Linked DNA regions of Homo sapiens: region 2 is linked to region 1. The links are contacts of gene promoters, found by promoter capture Hi-C in human tissues and cell types (Jung and others, 2019). All regions are on one chromosome and are shown on one strand. The core of a region is centred on a gene start or on the middle of the fragment in contact, and the rest is flanking DNA. Distances in the headings are between cores, read along the strand shown. Region 1 holds the start of MEDAG (mesenteric estrogen dependent adipogenesis). Region 2 holds the start of TRN-GTT2-4 (tRNA-Asn (anticodon GTT) 2-4).

Region 1 (7,589 bases), core at 2,433-4,932:
CAGGAGTGATTGTTTGCCTGGCTGGTACTTGGGTAATGAAAAAGACATTAAACATGAAAAGATCTCTCTAGCTCTCTACTTATTAGCAATGGCTTACATTACATTGAATACTATTTTTTTTCTGTTCACTTTTTCATATCTTTCTCTGGCATTTTGGTAATGCATAAATTACCCATAAAGAAATGCAGGTGTTTTGCTGAAAACGCATCAAATGAAACCTCTAGACAACATACCAAGAAAGCATCTTTAAAATATTTTTATTATGCTCAACATCATTTTTCTGTATAAAACAATACACATTTATTTGGAAAATACAGGAAAAGTGTAAAATCACACAACTGTGGTGAGGTAAAGAAAAATTTCGTTTAATTCTTCTACTCAGATCTAAGTGTTGATATCTTACTATGAAGGAAACGGATTTTTTTTTTTGAGATGGAGTTTGACTCTTGTCACCCAGGCTGGAGTGCAATGGCACGATCTTGGCTCATTGCAACCTCTGCCTCCCAGGTTCAAGCGATTCTCCTGCCTCAGCCTCCCAAGTAGCTAGGATTACAGGCATTCAACACCATACCCAGCTAATTTTTGTATTTTTAGTAGAGATGGGATTTCACCATGTTGGCCAGGCTGGTCTGGAACTCCTGACCTCAGGCGATCCACATGCCTTGGCCTCCCAGAATACTGGAATTATAGGTGTGAGCCACCGTGCCTGCCCAGGAAACGGTTTTTTGATAGGAGGGACTGGTATGTTTATCTTAAACAAATGCATATAATTCTGATATAAAACCCCGATGTAACATTTTACCCTTCAAGAAAGCCAAATCATTCATAGACAGTGTGGTGTAGGTTTAAGGGCAATCAAGAGTTGTTGAGCTTGATCTATGTGAAGCTCATAGGGTGAGTTGTTGAGTTCGATCTATGTGGAATGGGGAGAGTAGGGGCTGGTGAGGGCTCTGTAGTGGACCTGCCCTCCTTGACTTACTAATTGAAAGCAACTTCTGCAGCTGTTATTGTTGTTGAGGTTGTATTCCACCAGCAGGTTGGAGACACAGGCAAAATATAACTAGATTTCAGCCACATGTTTGGACATGGTGCCAGAAGACTAGTTCATGCTGATTCCTGCATTTCTCCCTGTTATTTGAGGACAGGGGCCATCCTCTATTCAACTCTGTATCTCCAGCAAAGCACTGAACATAGCAGATGCTCAATTAACATATGTTGAAGTAAACTAAAGGCCTGGGTTCAAATTCCTACCCTATCATGTATTAGCTAGATGCCCCCATCCACTTCTTTGGCTTCAACCCCGTCTTTGATCTAGAGACTTTCAAATCTCAATCATTGACCTTGTCTTTCCAAAACGCCAGACCCAACTAACTCCTTGCCTCCTGGACTTTTCTACCTTGATGTTCCATAAGTAGCTCAAAATCAGTATGTCCCCCCTGAACTCATCACTATCTCTCCTCAAACTCCTACTCTTCCTCCTGTGAACCCTAGCTTCGTTAATGGTGTCACCATCTCTCTGGGTACCCAAGCAAGAGACTAAGTGGGTCTCTCTGCTCTTTTTCATTTATTTACTCATAAGATCCTTCCTGCTGACTCTGACTCAAAAATGTTGAAACCTCATCTCCATTCCCACAGCTGCTTCTGTTCAGACCCCCATCATATGTTATCTGGATTATTACATCAATCTCCTAACTGGTTTCTCTGCCTCTGATCTTCCTGTTTCAAAACATCTTCTTTGGTCATAACCAAAGGTGTCTATCTGAACTGAGGCATAATTATATCACTTCCTTTCTTTAAAACATCCCAAGGCTCCTCATTGTCTTAAGAATCCAAATTCCTGACAACTCAGAGGGTCTGTCACAATCTGGCTCCAACAGCCCTTTCTGGTCTCATCTCATATAAAACTGACCCCTCTTATCCCAAATAGGATGGTCTGCCCTAGCTGTTTAAAAATTTCCCCCCTCCCCCAGATGGAACCATAGCATCTCTCTTTGCATAGAATGGTACAGAATCTTCTCTCCCATCTCCTTATTGCTGCTGCTCCTTCCCCTGGGAGCCTCCCCTGTGTATTGGAAGTCTAGCCATGTGTCACCTCCTTTGAGCACCCTTCTTGGGGCAGAACCACTTATTTCTCATAGTGCTTAGTCCATACATCTATGGTAGCACTTATTGGATCCTTGTGTGTGTGTGTGTGTGACCTCAGAGCTTAAGATGGTCCCTGGTGCATAGTGATGACTCTGTCAATGTTTGGGACAAGAGTGAAGTTCTAAATAGGGCACAATGGATTTAACTGCTGGCACCAAATCCCTCCCCTGTGAAAACAGCCCCAGCCTCTGAGTCCTGTCTACAGTCTCAGCCCACCCCAGACCCATTCTCTTTGCAGGGATCCTCAAACCTCCCTTTGCAAGAAGATCTTCTGGATGCTTTTTTCACAGGTAGAGCATCCTTCCTGCGCCACAAAAGGTTGAGTGGGTAGTGATCAATTCATGCTCAGTGAATTAGATTTGTTCAGAGAGGCCCAGAGATGGGGTAATGATCCCATGGGTAAAAGATCCATGTCTGGAGAAAGGATAGGTGTGCACCTAGAAGAAGAGAAGAGAGTGGGGCTCATTTATATTCTGAGATTTAAATGAGATGTGGCGGGAGGACTCTTCATCCCATCTGATTAAACCTACACAAGAGTTCATGTGGGGGCACACAAAGACTAACTAAGGATATTCTCTACGTTCTACTCAACTTTTGGGATGTAGCTTAGAATCCTAAAACACAGTACTACAGAAAGCCTCGAAACTAGGCTAGATTCTCCTCCCATCCCATCCAGGCTTCTCCGCAGCAGAAATAGGTGTTTAATTAAATGGAATAATATAGTTCTCCTTTCATACCTCAGGAGATCAATGAGCCCATAGCTAGCACTCACATATTTATAGACTGAAGAAATGAACATATTCTGGGGCTCAAGGAGATCACCACCTACTGGGGAGGCAGGGGAGAAGGGAGGATGCTAGGACCCTGCTATCCCCACTACACGGCACATTGCAGTCTAGGGTTCACCGTGCAGTAGAAAGGAGAAGCAAAGCGATGAAACCCTCGTGGGATTCGTGAAGGCTTTATGGAAAAGCGATGTGATGATCAGTGGGATTTCTAGGGGGAAGGGATCCAGGGCCAGCAACCAGCTGAAGGAAAGGCTGAAAGGAGGGAAATGCAGGGTACGATCTGGATGGAGTTAAAATGGCAGAAAACTGAGGCTGAGTGAGAGGTCTGGTACTGAGGTGGGGATCGGAGTTCCAGCACTGGCCTTTGACAGCCTCTGGGTCCCAGGTGGAATGGGTAGGGCCAGAGCCCTTGCCTTCTTCTCCAATCAACACCAGGGGTGTGGTGTCTTAGGCAAGGATGGGTGCTGTGCGCCCTGCCGCCCACCATAGGCAGGGCCTGGGAACCCGGGGAGGACTCTCCCCACCTCCAGCCTCCGGCAGTGTCCGCCAGGCAGGGCGGGGGCCAGCGCTGGTGTTGAGTAGTGGACCCCAGGGGGATGACTAAGCCTTGCCTGCGAGCAGACTCGAGCATGCCAAGTTATGAGACGATGATAACTCTGCCCCGAGCCTCTGGGGTCGTGGCCGTGGGCCGGCAGGGGCGAGGCGGGCGTCCAGAGGGCGGATAAAAGGGGCCGCGCTGCGCCGGGGCCGCTTTCTCCGCGCGGTGCCTGCAGGGCTCCCAGCGAGTGGCAGCTTGGGAGGGGCCGCCCGGGCGGTCAGACTGGCACCTGAGCGGCCACCGCGTCCCGGCCAGGCGGGCAGACCGACCCCCTCCTCACCTCGCGCGCGGCTGACGCAGGCAGGGCGCCCGGCCCCTCCTGGGGACCATCAGGTGCCGGCTGGGGGCTGTAGGCACCGGACGGAAGCAGGCGGTGTGAGGACCGACGACGCGGGCATGGCGGGGGCGGCCTGCGAGCCGGTGGCCAGGCCGAGCCTGACCTCCATCTCGTCTGGGGAGCTTCGCAGCCTGTGGACCTGCGACTGCGAGCTGGCCCTGCTGCCGCTGGCTCAGCTGCTGCGCCTGCAGCCCGGTGCCTTCCAGCTGAGCGGCGACCAGCTCGTGGTGGCCAGGCCCGGGGAGCCGGCGGCGGCGCGGGGGGGCTTCAACGTCTTCGGTGACGGCCTCGTGCGCCTCGACGGGCAGCTCTACCGCCTCAGCAGCTACATCAAGAGGTGGGTGGCCTCGCCGTGCGCCCTGGCCCGTCGCCTGGTACCCGCAGACGCCTCCACCCGGCTGCGGTCTCTGGGAGCCTGGGCTGTCCTCGCTGCCTGCGACACCGCGTGGCCCCTTGCTCCGTGCGCTTCTAGACTTTCCTTCTGCTTCTATCACCCGGAGCCTGCACGCTCGCCCTGGTTCTTCTGCCTCTTGCACTGACATTTTGCAGCTGCTGCTTGAAGCCGCCCAGAAGGGCATCAGGACTGGGGGCGAGGGGGAGGGCAGGGGCCCCCCAGCCAGAGCTCATGAGTGGCAGATGCTTCTCCCATTCTGGCTCCTTAACTGGGTCAGATGAGCTCAAATTGGGAGCACACCCTTTAGGGGCTGTCTGCAGCTCTGCAAGACTCACATCCTGGCTTTGGAGCATGGGTGGCGGTGAGGAGCAGGGGGCATGCACCATTCTGAGCACTGCCAGCCCTCTCCAGTGAGGAGACCGAGTGGAGAAGCATGCAAAAGCTCAAAGTTTCCCATCTCTGGCCTCACTTCGTGTTTCAAAAGTAAACAAATAAACCGCAGCTGAGAAGGGAACAAAGCCCCTGGAAGTCCAGCCCGGGGCCATGTGGGCTGTGGAAGGCACAGATAAGTTCTGGGGAAATAAGTGCGAAACCTGAGGGCCTTAATGGGAAGGAGGCCCCCAGGATGCTTGACTGTTGTGGCCAGAGTGCCCCCAAGCTCTTCTTGGCAGACCGGCAGGATGTGGCCCAGCCATCTGAAGCAGGCTTTGGTGCCACAGGGTAAAGGAGGGCACTTCAGGCCTGATTCCACATGGCCTCAGGCCTCCAGAGTTCACTCTTGGCAAGGGCCTGGAGTGCAAAGACCTGTTATATTTGTGCTGAGAGAGCCAAGTGCCTGAAGAGGCAAGCATGGTCTAGAGTTTGACTCAGAAATGAATAAGATAGCCAGCTTTTGAGACACAGCGCCTTTGCTACTGGGAAAGACAGCGTGCTGTGGCACCCTGTGGGTAGGAGGGAGCCAAGAGAGGGAAGCAAACAAAATGAGATATTGAACGTGCAGTCTTCAAAACTCTTGGAGAAAAAACCTTGCTTTTCCAAAGATAGTGAGGGCTCTGAATGCCTGAAGAACCATTCCCCAGCAAGAATTTCTCCCTTTCTTAGTGAAATGAAAATTCCAATTCCAAACCATAAGCGGAGGACTGTGGGAGGAACTGAGTCAGATGTGTGCAGATTTAAAAAGAAGATACCCATTGTATTTGAGAGCAGGGTATGAAAAATAAAAATGTCCAGAATGAACGAAGCCGTAAGTTAGGGTTTTGACAGAACCAGTTCTCCTAATTGTAGCAAACAGTGCTGCAGAATCTGAAATGATTTTGAAGTCTGTCATCTAACTTTTGCTTTGAACACCTCCTACACAAAAGAAAATTAAACAACAGTGATTCCCCTGACAGCTTTGAATCTAGAATAAACAACTGGGCCACAGTGACCAGGTAACACAGACCAGGGTGCAAATACAAAACAACAAATAATAGGCTATCATTGTATAAGCAATACTGTGAGGGCTTCTTTTGTACCTGGGAAATAGCAAGGAGCCTCTGAAAATAATTTGGGTGATGGAAGGAGCTATCTATTGTCCTCAGGCAGGGAAGGAGGCTTTTATAACTGAGTGTGCAGTCCTGAAGGATGGCCAGGAGGGAATGTGGTCTAAATGGAGACAGCCTTCCAGGCAGAGGGGGAGGACTGGACTGTGGGCAGCAGTGAGAGGTTCTGCCCTCGGGAATCAGGAGGTGGGAGGTATGCCGAAGCCAGAACTCAGATATCTAAAGCTTCGTTCCTCTGAGCTGCCAAATTTGCCAGTTGTTTTTGGCTTTAGAGATAGCATAAAACCTCCCTCCCTCCCCTCCCTCCCTCCCCACTTCCTTCCCTCTCTCCCTCCCTCCCTCCCTTCCTTCCTTCCTTCTTTTTGAAAAATAAGCTCTGGCCAGTTTTATTAAAGATTTGCATGATTTATTTTCACCAGTCTGTTCTGGCATGCTTCCAAAGATCTCAGGGCTGGGTGCAGTGCCTCATGCCTGTAATCCCAGCACTTTGGGAGGCTGAGGTGGGCGGATTGCTTGAGTCCAGGACTTCGAGGCCAGCTTGGGCAACATAGTGAGACCTCCTGTCTACAAAAATTAGCTGGGCATAGTGACATGCACCTGTGGTCCCAGCTGCTCAGGAGGCCGAGGTGGGAGGTGGATGGCTTGAATCTTGGAGGTGGAGCTTGCAGTGAGCCGAGATGGTGCCACTGCACTCCAGCCTAGGCAACACAGTGAGACCCTGTCTCAAAAAAAAAAAAAAAAAAAAAAAATCTCAGCATTCCCTGGATCAGTGACACCAGGGTGCACTTGCTATGGTATTTTCCACATGCTGTGCCCAATTTAATGTTATTACTGCTGGAGTGGTAGATGGCAGTTTTGAGAGTATGCACCTTAGTTCTGTATTTCAGATTTCCTCGAGGCCAGGCAGTTGGTGGGGATGACCGGTTTCACTTTGCCTTGTCTATCATCTTCAGAGCCGGATTGCCCCAGCTTGTATTTTTGACCCTTAATGGGTTGGAGCCTAGAGTGGATGGACTCCAGTGACTTTTCGTCTTCTTTGCGGCCACCATATTCTGGCCTTGGATGTGGGATGGCCTCTAACCAAAAGCAGCCACCAAGATGGCCAGGGATCCCAAAAGGCAAAATGGTTCTTAATCATTTTGGACCATAGAACTTTTGAGAATTCTACGTAGATTCCCCAGAAATGTAAATATATACCCAATTTTTGCTGACCATCCAGGATGTTCATGAGATACTTGGACCCAGGTTAAGAATCCTTGCTCTATTAATTAATTAGTTCTTTTTAACTCAACAAATATTTTTGGCATATGGGATAAGCCCCTGGTGTAATTAGAATTTCTTTCTGGGACCTCATAAGTATGTACTGTGGCTTTCATGAGGCCCTTTTCCAAGGAACCCCGAAAGGCTAAGAGCCACCGACCTTGACTTTCAGGTTATTCACTCGCTAAGAGAGCAACAGGATGATTTTAGCAGCCCTACTTAGGTTCATTTTCTAATACTTTAACATTTTTTCTAAGTACATACCTACTAAGTAACCTAAAGAAATCCAGCATAGTGGGAAGGTTTAGTGATGACCACCAGCTCTAAAGCTCCTTCAAAAACCTACTTTAAAAATATTTGTCCTATTTTGTAGGATTTATGGCAAGATCTTTATTTTTATTATTTTCTTTCAAGATCAGGATTTTCGCCCATGTTGTAAACACAATGTGCTCAGGACACGAGATGTGGGTAATGGTCATTCAGGGAGCCATTCATTCAATACTTAAAAGTCAAAATTACCATTAAC
Region 2 (7,589 bases), core at 2,317-4,816, 230 kb before region 1:
GAGGAGGTTCAAGTATCTCCACAACTCACCTCAGAGTGAATGCTCCCCTCGGCCTTAAGGCAATATAAACCAGCCCTGTTTAGCAGGATAGCAAAATGTTTGCGGTTGTAAACTGGTGTCCCATTGGCTGTGGCGCTTGTGGTGTAAAGAATCCCTGTGCTTGGTAATTAATAGAGAAATTCTATATTTTAAACTTCAGTTGTATATTGGCTCTTATCCATGGCAGATTTTCACGTATGTGTTATTTTTTTATTTATTCAGAGCCGGAGTCTCGCTTTGTCGCCCAGGCTGGAGTGCAGTGGCGCGATCTTGGCTCATTGCAGCCTCTGCCTCTTGGGCTCAAGCAATTCTTCTGCCTCAGCCTCCCTAGTAGCTGGGACTACAGGTGCATGCCACCACGCCCGGCTAATTTTTTGTATTTTAGTAGAGATGGGGTTTCACCGTGTTGCTCAGGCTGGTCTTGAATTTCTGAGCTCAGGCAATCCGCCCGCCTCGGCCTCCCAAAGTGCTGGGATTATAGGTGTGAGCCATCATGCTCGGCCCTATGTGATATTTATTACAATGAATTCCAATGATCAGACCTATACTCAAGTATAAGTGAATATATCATTCAATGAAGTATAAATGATCATTATGTTCATATTCACACATACAATAATGTACTCAAGTTTATTGCTAAGGTAATTCAGAATCTCCTTATTTTGAAGTGTGCATTTGATATACCTGTTTGGGAATAACTAGTTTCTTATCTTTGACAGAAAATAATTTTGTTGTTTTGTTTTTACTAAAAAAGCATGGTGAAAAATGGCTCCATTTCTAAGAGAGGTAACTAAAATATCGCAATTTGCTGGGTGTCATTAAAGTAACTCACAAGGGAAAAAATGCAAATTGGTATCTGCTGATGGAGTAAATCTCCGCAGAAGTGATGACCCTGAAAGGATCAATATATTAAAGCCCCTCCCAGCTGGTCATTCCAGATTGCAACAATAAAGCATTAAGTGTTAAAACCTCAAGGCAGCTTTTTTTTTTTTTTTTTGTCTCAAGTCCTTTATTATTAATTTTATAGACCTACTTAATTACTAAGCCAAAAAAAATCAAACTTGTTTCTCTTTGTGACTTGTCAATAGTATTAAACTATTCTGGTTTTTTATTTTTGTGTTACCTTAAAGTCTCCAGTTTAGTAATTTTTCTGTACCTAAACACTTCGGATTTGACATGCTTTGTGGCCTTTATCAGTAGTTAGAATGTAAATCCAATAAATAAAGTAAAAGCCAGGTCTTCAAAACCTGGGGGCCAAGAACTCTGTTTTAGAGGGCCTGTGACTCTCTTGGACACTGGACAAAATCTCATCTCTAAATATGGATATTTTAGGGAGAGGGTCTTTAGGCTGTCATTTGGATTTTCACAGGGCTCCATGTATCCATAAGGTAGTCTCTTGGGAAGTTTGACTTCAATAAATGAAGTTTAACTTAAACCTAAAATGAAATTTAACTGAAAAACAAAATCCAATGAAAGATGCTTTCTTATGCAAAAACAAACAAACAAAAAAAAAACAAAAAAACCCCAAAAAACCCAAAGCCAAAGATTGTTTCTGAAATTAGGTTCTAGGTTCCAGAGCAACTCCATGGTGGGGAATCAGCCACATGTAAAGTAAGCTAAGAGTTTGGACAATTTGTAATATTTATTCCTAGGTTTCTTTAAGACCCTTTCAGATTTTGAATTCCTATTAGTAGCATCAGCCAGGTTCTAAATGTAGGCATCACCATAGACACTTCCCCACTGCTGCAGTCCCCAACACTTGCCCAATTTTCCCTTGAATTGCACCCATGCTGCCTTCTCCAGGCCTATTTGAACCCAGAACCTCGTTGTGCCTCGTTTGAAATATAATTTCCTCCTAACTAGTCTCTGATCTACTATTTCCCCTACATTGCTGCCACACTAATCACCTAAAATAGATTTCATTCTACCCTGAAACAGAAATCTCTAATAAGTTACTCCCTTCCCTTACGGGGTAAAGTTAGCCACATCCTAGGTATTCAAGGACCTTCCAGGAGCTAAGAACATTTCCCCTGCACCTTCTTGAAGTACACTTGTCCTATGTACTGGTTATGTTCATTTCTTACCCTCGCTCTCGTTTTGTCTGGAATTTTCCTTGGCCTTAAATGCCTCTCACCTGCCTGCCCACATCTCTCAGGGTTGTTTCAAATCCTCAATGAAGGCTCACAGCCCCAGTCTATGTTGGCCACTTACTTCGTGGCCTGGGAACATTTTTCTTTGGCTGACTTGCTGACACTCCATCAGATGCATTTTTATCTGGTTGTCCATCTGTGAACCATACCCTGAGAAGGCAGAGAGTGCCTCTGCACTGAACATGTGCTAGGGGACAGGTCTGTGCTAGAGGGGCAAGCACTGGGAATGAAGAACTGGTCCCTACTCCCAAGGAGTTCATATCTCAGTGGAGGTGACAAGCAACTCACTGTTTCCGGGGGTTGTGGTGACTGCTGGGAGAAGGGGTGTCTATATTAGATCGAAGCAGCATCAGGGGAGGTTCCCTGAGAAGGTGATGCCTCAGCGGATGTCTCCCAGCTAAGTGGGGTGGAGGTGGAGAAGGGCAGAGCAGGGAGAGGATCTAGGTGGGGCGTGTAAGTCTGCATGGGTAACTCAGGGAACCCTTGGTAACTGCATGTAACTGTGTGAAGCTTTCATGAAGGAACATGGTAGGAGACTAGGGTATGGACTATAGAAGCCCTTTTGCTAAGCTCAAGAATTTGAGGCCGGGAGCGGTGGCTCACGCCTGAAATCCCAGCACTTTGGGAGGCCAAGGCGGGCGGATCACGAGGTCAGGAGATCGAGACCATCCTGGCTAACATGGTGAAACCCCGTCTCTACTAAAAAAAAAGTACAAAAAATTAGCGGGGCGTGGTGGCGGGCGCCCGTAGTCCCAGCTACTCAGGGAGCTGAGGCAGGAGAATGGCATGAACCCGGGAGGCGGAGCTTGCAGTGGGCGGAGACTGTGCCACTGCACTCCAGCCTGGGCAACAGTGCAAGACTCCATCTGAAAACAACAACAACAACAAAAAATTTGAAGTGTATCTTGAAGGAAATCCCTTGGAGCCTAAAAATGATCATTGATAACAGAAAATGATCTCTGCTCTCGCCTAGGGTAATATATTCAGCTTCAAAGTGGAAGGGCATGTTTTCCAAGGGCATGTTTTCTAAGTCCCTGTAATTGTAGTGATAGCAAATATATGCCCTGCATCTTGAAATGTAAGACTAGGTTTGAACAGTATATAAATTATCTTATGATCTAATTTCCCCTCATTTTGTGGTTTCTACTATAAGCTACCCAGAAGTGTAGACAGGACGTTTGGAATTTGATGGGCATCGGAAAGATTCCTACCTAAGAACATTTTTTTTTTTTTTTTTTTTTCTGAGAAGGAGCCTTGCTCTGTCACCCAGGCTGGAGTGCAGTGGCACGATCTCAGCTTACTGCAACCTCCACCTCTCAGGTTCAAGTGATTCTCCTGCCTCAGCCTCCTGAGTAGCTGGGACTACAGGTGTGCACCATCATGCCTAGTTAATTTTTATATTTTTAATAAAGGCAGGATTTCACTATGTTAGCCAGGCTGGTCTTGAACTCCTGACCCCATGATCTGCCCACCTTGGCCTCCCAAAGTGCTGGGATTACAGGTGTGAGCCACTGCGCCCGGCCTCTAAGAAAATTTTTGAGAGCTACTTGTTCTGTTGCCTGGAATTCCACCGTAAGTACGACGTTGTGTCTCCTTCTCCAGGGCTACTAACTAAACAACAGAGGGTATTGTGTTATCGACAATTATTTGATTGATAACTATCAGCAAACATTTGCCAAGGCATTCCTTTAAAGATAGCCTAGTGACTCTATTAACTACTCCTTCTTCCAGGCTTCTAAGTTCTGTTGGAGGTAAGTAGATCCCAGAGATAAAGCACCTACCATAGGACCTGAATCTTGGTAGAAATAAATTATATCATCATGTTATCATATTATCATGTGTTTTTCTATCTTTAAAGTCTTATGTGAATATTCTGCTTGAAAAATATGTGTCCTCTGTTAGACCAGAGTTGAAAATATGTTATTCAAGAACTTGTAACAGGAACCCGCACAATTTCTGCTGGAGTTTAATTTCAGGGTTAATTCTGTCAGCAATCTAAGGTAAACATTAACATTTTTCCCTAGATTCAAGTCCGTTGTCCAAAAGCTGTAACAGAACTTAACTGAATAAATAGTTTCTTAAGATGGTAAGCTTCCATATGCTTATAATGACTCCTCTACACGTTTTCATCTGGAAGGCTGCTCATGCTTTTGGAAGCAAAGAAGACAATCTTAAATAACTACATTTGCTTTTTGGTGGTGCCAGATTTTTCTGAGAAACACCAATGGAATTTATAAATTCACCAGTCAATGGGCAATTGAGTTGCTGTTTTGCTATTACCACTGCCGTTTGTGAGCATTGTTGGGAAGGTGTCTTGAAGCACACGTGCAAGTTTCCCTTGGATAAGTAGTAGGAATAGAATTGCCAAACCATGGCTTCCAGTGCAGACACAGTCTCTCCCTTGGGCCCAGCCACTAGGCACCACACATTAAGAGGATATTGTCTGTCCATGTCCTAGAAACGTTGTAGCATCATGCTCCTATTCGATTAAAAATCTCATTATTAAAATGAACCATCGGGTAAATGTTGTCTCGGGAAAAGAAGCACTGACCGTCCCTGGGTGGGCTCGAACCACCAACCTTTCGGTTAACAGCCGAACGCGCTAACCGATTGCGCCACAGAGACCCAGTTACTCAGGCCGCGCTGCGGTGTGTACAGATTTCCGCGGCGCCGGCAGCCGCTCTAGCCACCCTGGGCGTCGCCACCCCAGGCGTTGCCACCCCAGGCACGGGCTGAGAAGTCGCGGGGCGCGCCGAGGAGGCAGCGGAAGCGGCCGAGGTGCCCAGCGGCCGCCGCGGGGGGAGAGGCTGTGCCCCGGCGCGCGGGAGGGGGCGGGCGAGGCCGCGTGACTCCGGGCTTCTCTGGGGACGAAGCGCGCCCCTCGTGGCGGCAGCGGCCAGTGGTCCGCAGTCGGCCCGGACTCGGGGTAGGAAAGATCCTCTCAGCAATGGCTGCGCGCCATGCGTGCTCTGCGGCGGGGACCGTGCCGGCCGGGCGCGCCACCAGTAACCAGGGACCCAGGGGAGAACCTGCCAAGGGGAATAGGTCGCACGGAGAGAATACGACACGCTTGGAGGGAAGAACCACGTGCTGTACAGGTTTAAAGGATGGAGAGTCACGTGCGCTTAGGTCCCAAACTTAAGGGACCTAACCCTTTTTCTGGGTTGCCGCTATTGCCCCTTCTCCTTAGACAGTTTTTCATCTCATCACCTCTCACCCCGTAAAATGCAACGAACATAGATAGGCTGTGTATCAATGTAGACTGTATGTATATCTGTGCTTCGTACATAAAAAGAATATGATTTTTGCCACCTTCTAAGAACCAATTTGCACCCCATTTTGAGGCATATGGCCTCTGTTGAGATTGCATAGTTTAGGGGACATCAAAAAAGCCTTATAGAGGGACTGGCAATTAAGATAGCCTTTCAGTTTGAAATGGCCATTGAAGGCTTCTCCCTTTCCCTGACTTCTGAATTTTTTTTTTTTTTTTTTTTTTTTTTTTTTGAGATGGAGTCTTGCCCTGTTGCTGGAGTGCAATGGCGCGATCTCGGCTCACTGCAACCTCCGCCTCCCGGGTTCAAGCGATTCCTGCCTCAGCCTCCCGAGTAGCTGGGAATACAGGCGCCTGCCACCACGCCCAGCTAACTTTTGTATTTTTAGTAGAGGCGGGGTTTCGCCATGCTGGCCAGGCTGGTCTGGTACTCCTGACCTCGTGATCCGCCCGCCTCCGCCTCCCAAAGTGCTGGGATGACATTACAGGCGTGAGCCACCGTGCCCGGCCAATTTTTTTAGGCGCACTGTTCAGTGGCACTAAGTACATTCACATTGTTATGCAACTATCACCGCCATCCATTTCCAGAACCTTTTCATCTTCCGAAACAGAAGCTCCCTACCCATTACACGGTAACTCACGATTCCCCTCCTCTAGTCGGAACAATCACCATTCTACTTTCTGTCCCTTTGAATTTGACTACTCTTAGAGACCTCATGTAAATGGAGTCATACGGTGTTTGCCTGTGGCTGGCTTATTTCACTTACCATATGTCTTCAAGGTCCATCCACGTTGTAGCCTGTGTCAGGATTTCCTTCCTGGATAAGGCTGAATAAGCTGCACTGTATGCAGGTATCGCATTTTGCTTTTCCATTCATCTCTCCGTGAACATTAGGGTTGCTTCCACCTGCAGCTATGAACATGGGTCTACAAATAACTGATTCCCTGCTTTCAATTCTTTTGGGAATATACCCAGAGATGGAGTAGCTGGATCACATGGTTTGCTATTGGCTGTACCATTTTACATTCGCACCAACAGTGTACAAGAGTCCCTATTTCTCCTCATCTATTTTTTTTTTAAATAATGGGCATCCTAATGGGTATGAAGTATCATCTCATTGTGGTTTTGCTCTGCATTTCTCTAACGATTAGTGGTGTTGGGCATCTTTTCCAGACACCACCAATCTGAATTCTATGGCCCTTCGTTTACTCACTTCCTCCCAGCAAGAGCCATTTCTGCTTCAGCAAGGAGGAAGCTGCGACTGATAGAGGGAAAGGGCCCAGGGGGCTTGCAGAGTGGGGCCTGTGCCATGCAAGGAGAGGAGAAGAAGGTGGATCTTTGAGTAGGACTATCTGGAGATCCTGCTTTCACAAGGTCCTTGCTTGTGTGCTGGGCAGCTTTTGGAGCTAGTTATCTTTATTTTAGCCCTTGAGGGATATTTAGGCATGTGGTGCTTGTGAGCAGCCAATCCATGAAGAAGGAACTGATGGTCTCCACCTTGGAAATATTGGAAGAGATAATGCCGTCCAAATTGCAGTTTTAGAAGTTAACTTAAAATTATGCTATTTTAATGGAATTTTGGGTGCATTTCCATTTTCTTCTTAAGAATTGCTGGAATTTCTTAAGTGTTTAGGTGATGATCTCTTTTTGTGATTCCTTTTTTAAAAAACAACAACAAAATCTTTCAAATACATAAGAAATAGGCCGGGCACGGTGGCGTAATCCCACCACTTTGGGAGGCCGAGGAGGGCGGATCATGAGGTCAGGAGATCAAGACCATCCCGGCTAACACGGTGAAACCCCGTCTCTACTAAAAAATACAAAAAATTAGCCGGGCGTGGTGGCGGGCGCCTGTAGTCCCAGCTACTCGGGAGGCTGAGGCAGGAGAATGGCATGAACCCGGGAGGCGAAGCTTGCAGTGAGCCTAGATCGCACCACTGTACTTTAGCCTGGGCGATGGAGCAAGACTGTCTCAAAAAAAAAAAAAAGAAAAAAAAAGAAAGAAATAGACCTTTATTTTTCTGTAACTCCACAAAATTTCTATTTTGATTCCCTATTATTTTGCTATTGTCAACACAGTCTCAGTCAATTCAAGATCCTGTTTGTGCCTTTCCCTGGAGTCATTTCC

The links. Contacts are between HindIII fragments. The study calls those that stand out against the background at their distance.
Region 2: a fragment that was not itself captured here is called in contact with the fragment with the promoter of MEDAG in region 1 in 3 of the 25 tissues and cell types used here (aorta, hippocampus and mesenchymal stem cells).

The regions. Positions count from the first base shown.
Region 1 is chr13:30,902,589-30,910,177 of GRCh38, forward strand. MEDAG (mesenteric estrogen dependent adipogenesis) reads left to right here and starts at 3,683. Exons shown (of 5, transcript NM_032849.4): 1 at 3,683-4,205. The coding sequence starts at 3,928. The region is part of intron 2 of TEX26-AS1 (TEX26 antisense RNA 1); the gene reads right to left. RefSeq lists an enhancer at 4,284-4,785. The HindIII fragment of the contact is 12,319 bases long and covers 1-7,589 here.
Region 2 is chr13:30,669,224-30,676,812 of GRCh38, forward strand. It overlaps TRN-GTT2-4 (tRNA-Asn (anticodon GTT) 2-4), which reads right to left and starts at 4,814; the gene lies at 4,741-4,814. RefSeq lists a silencer at 4,664-5,173. The HindIII fragment of the contact is 4,519 bases long and covers 1,308-5,826 here.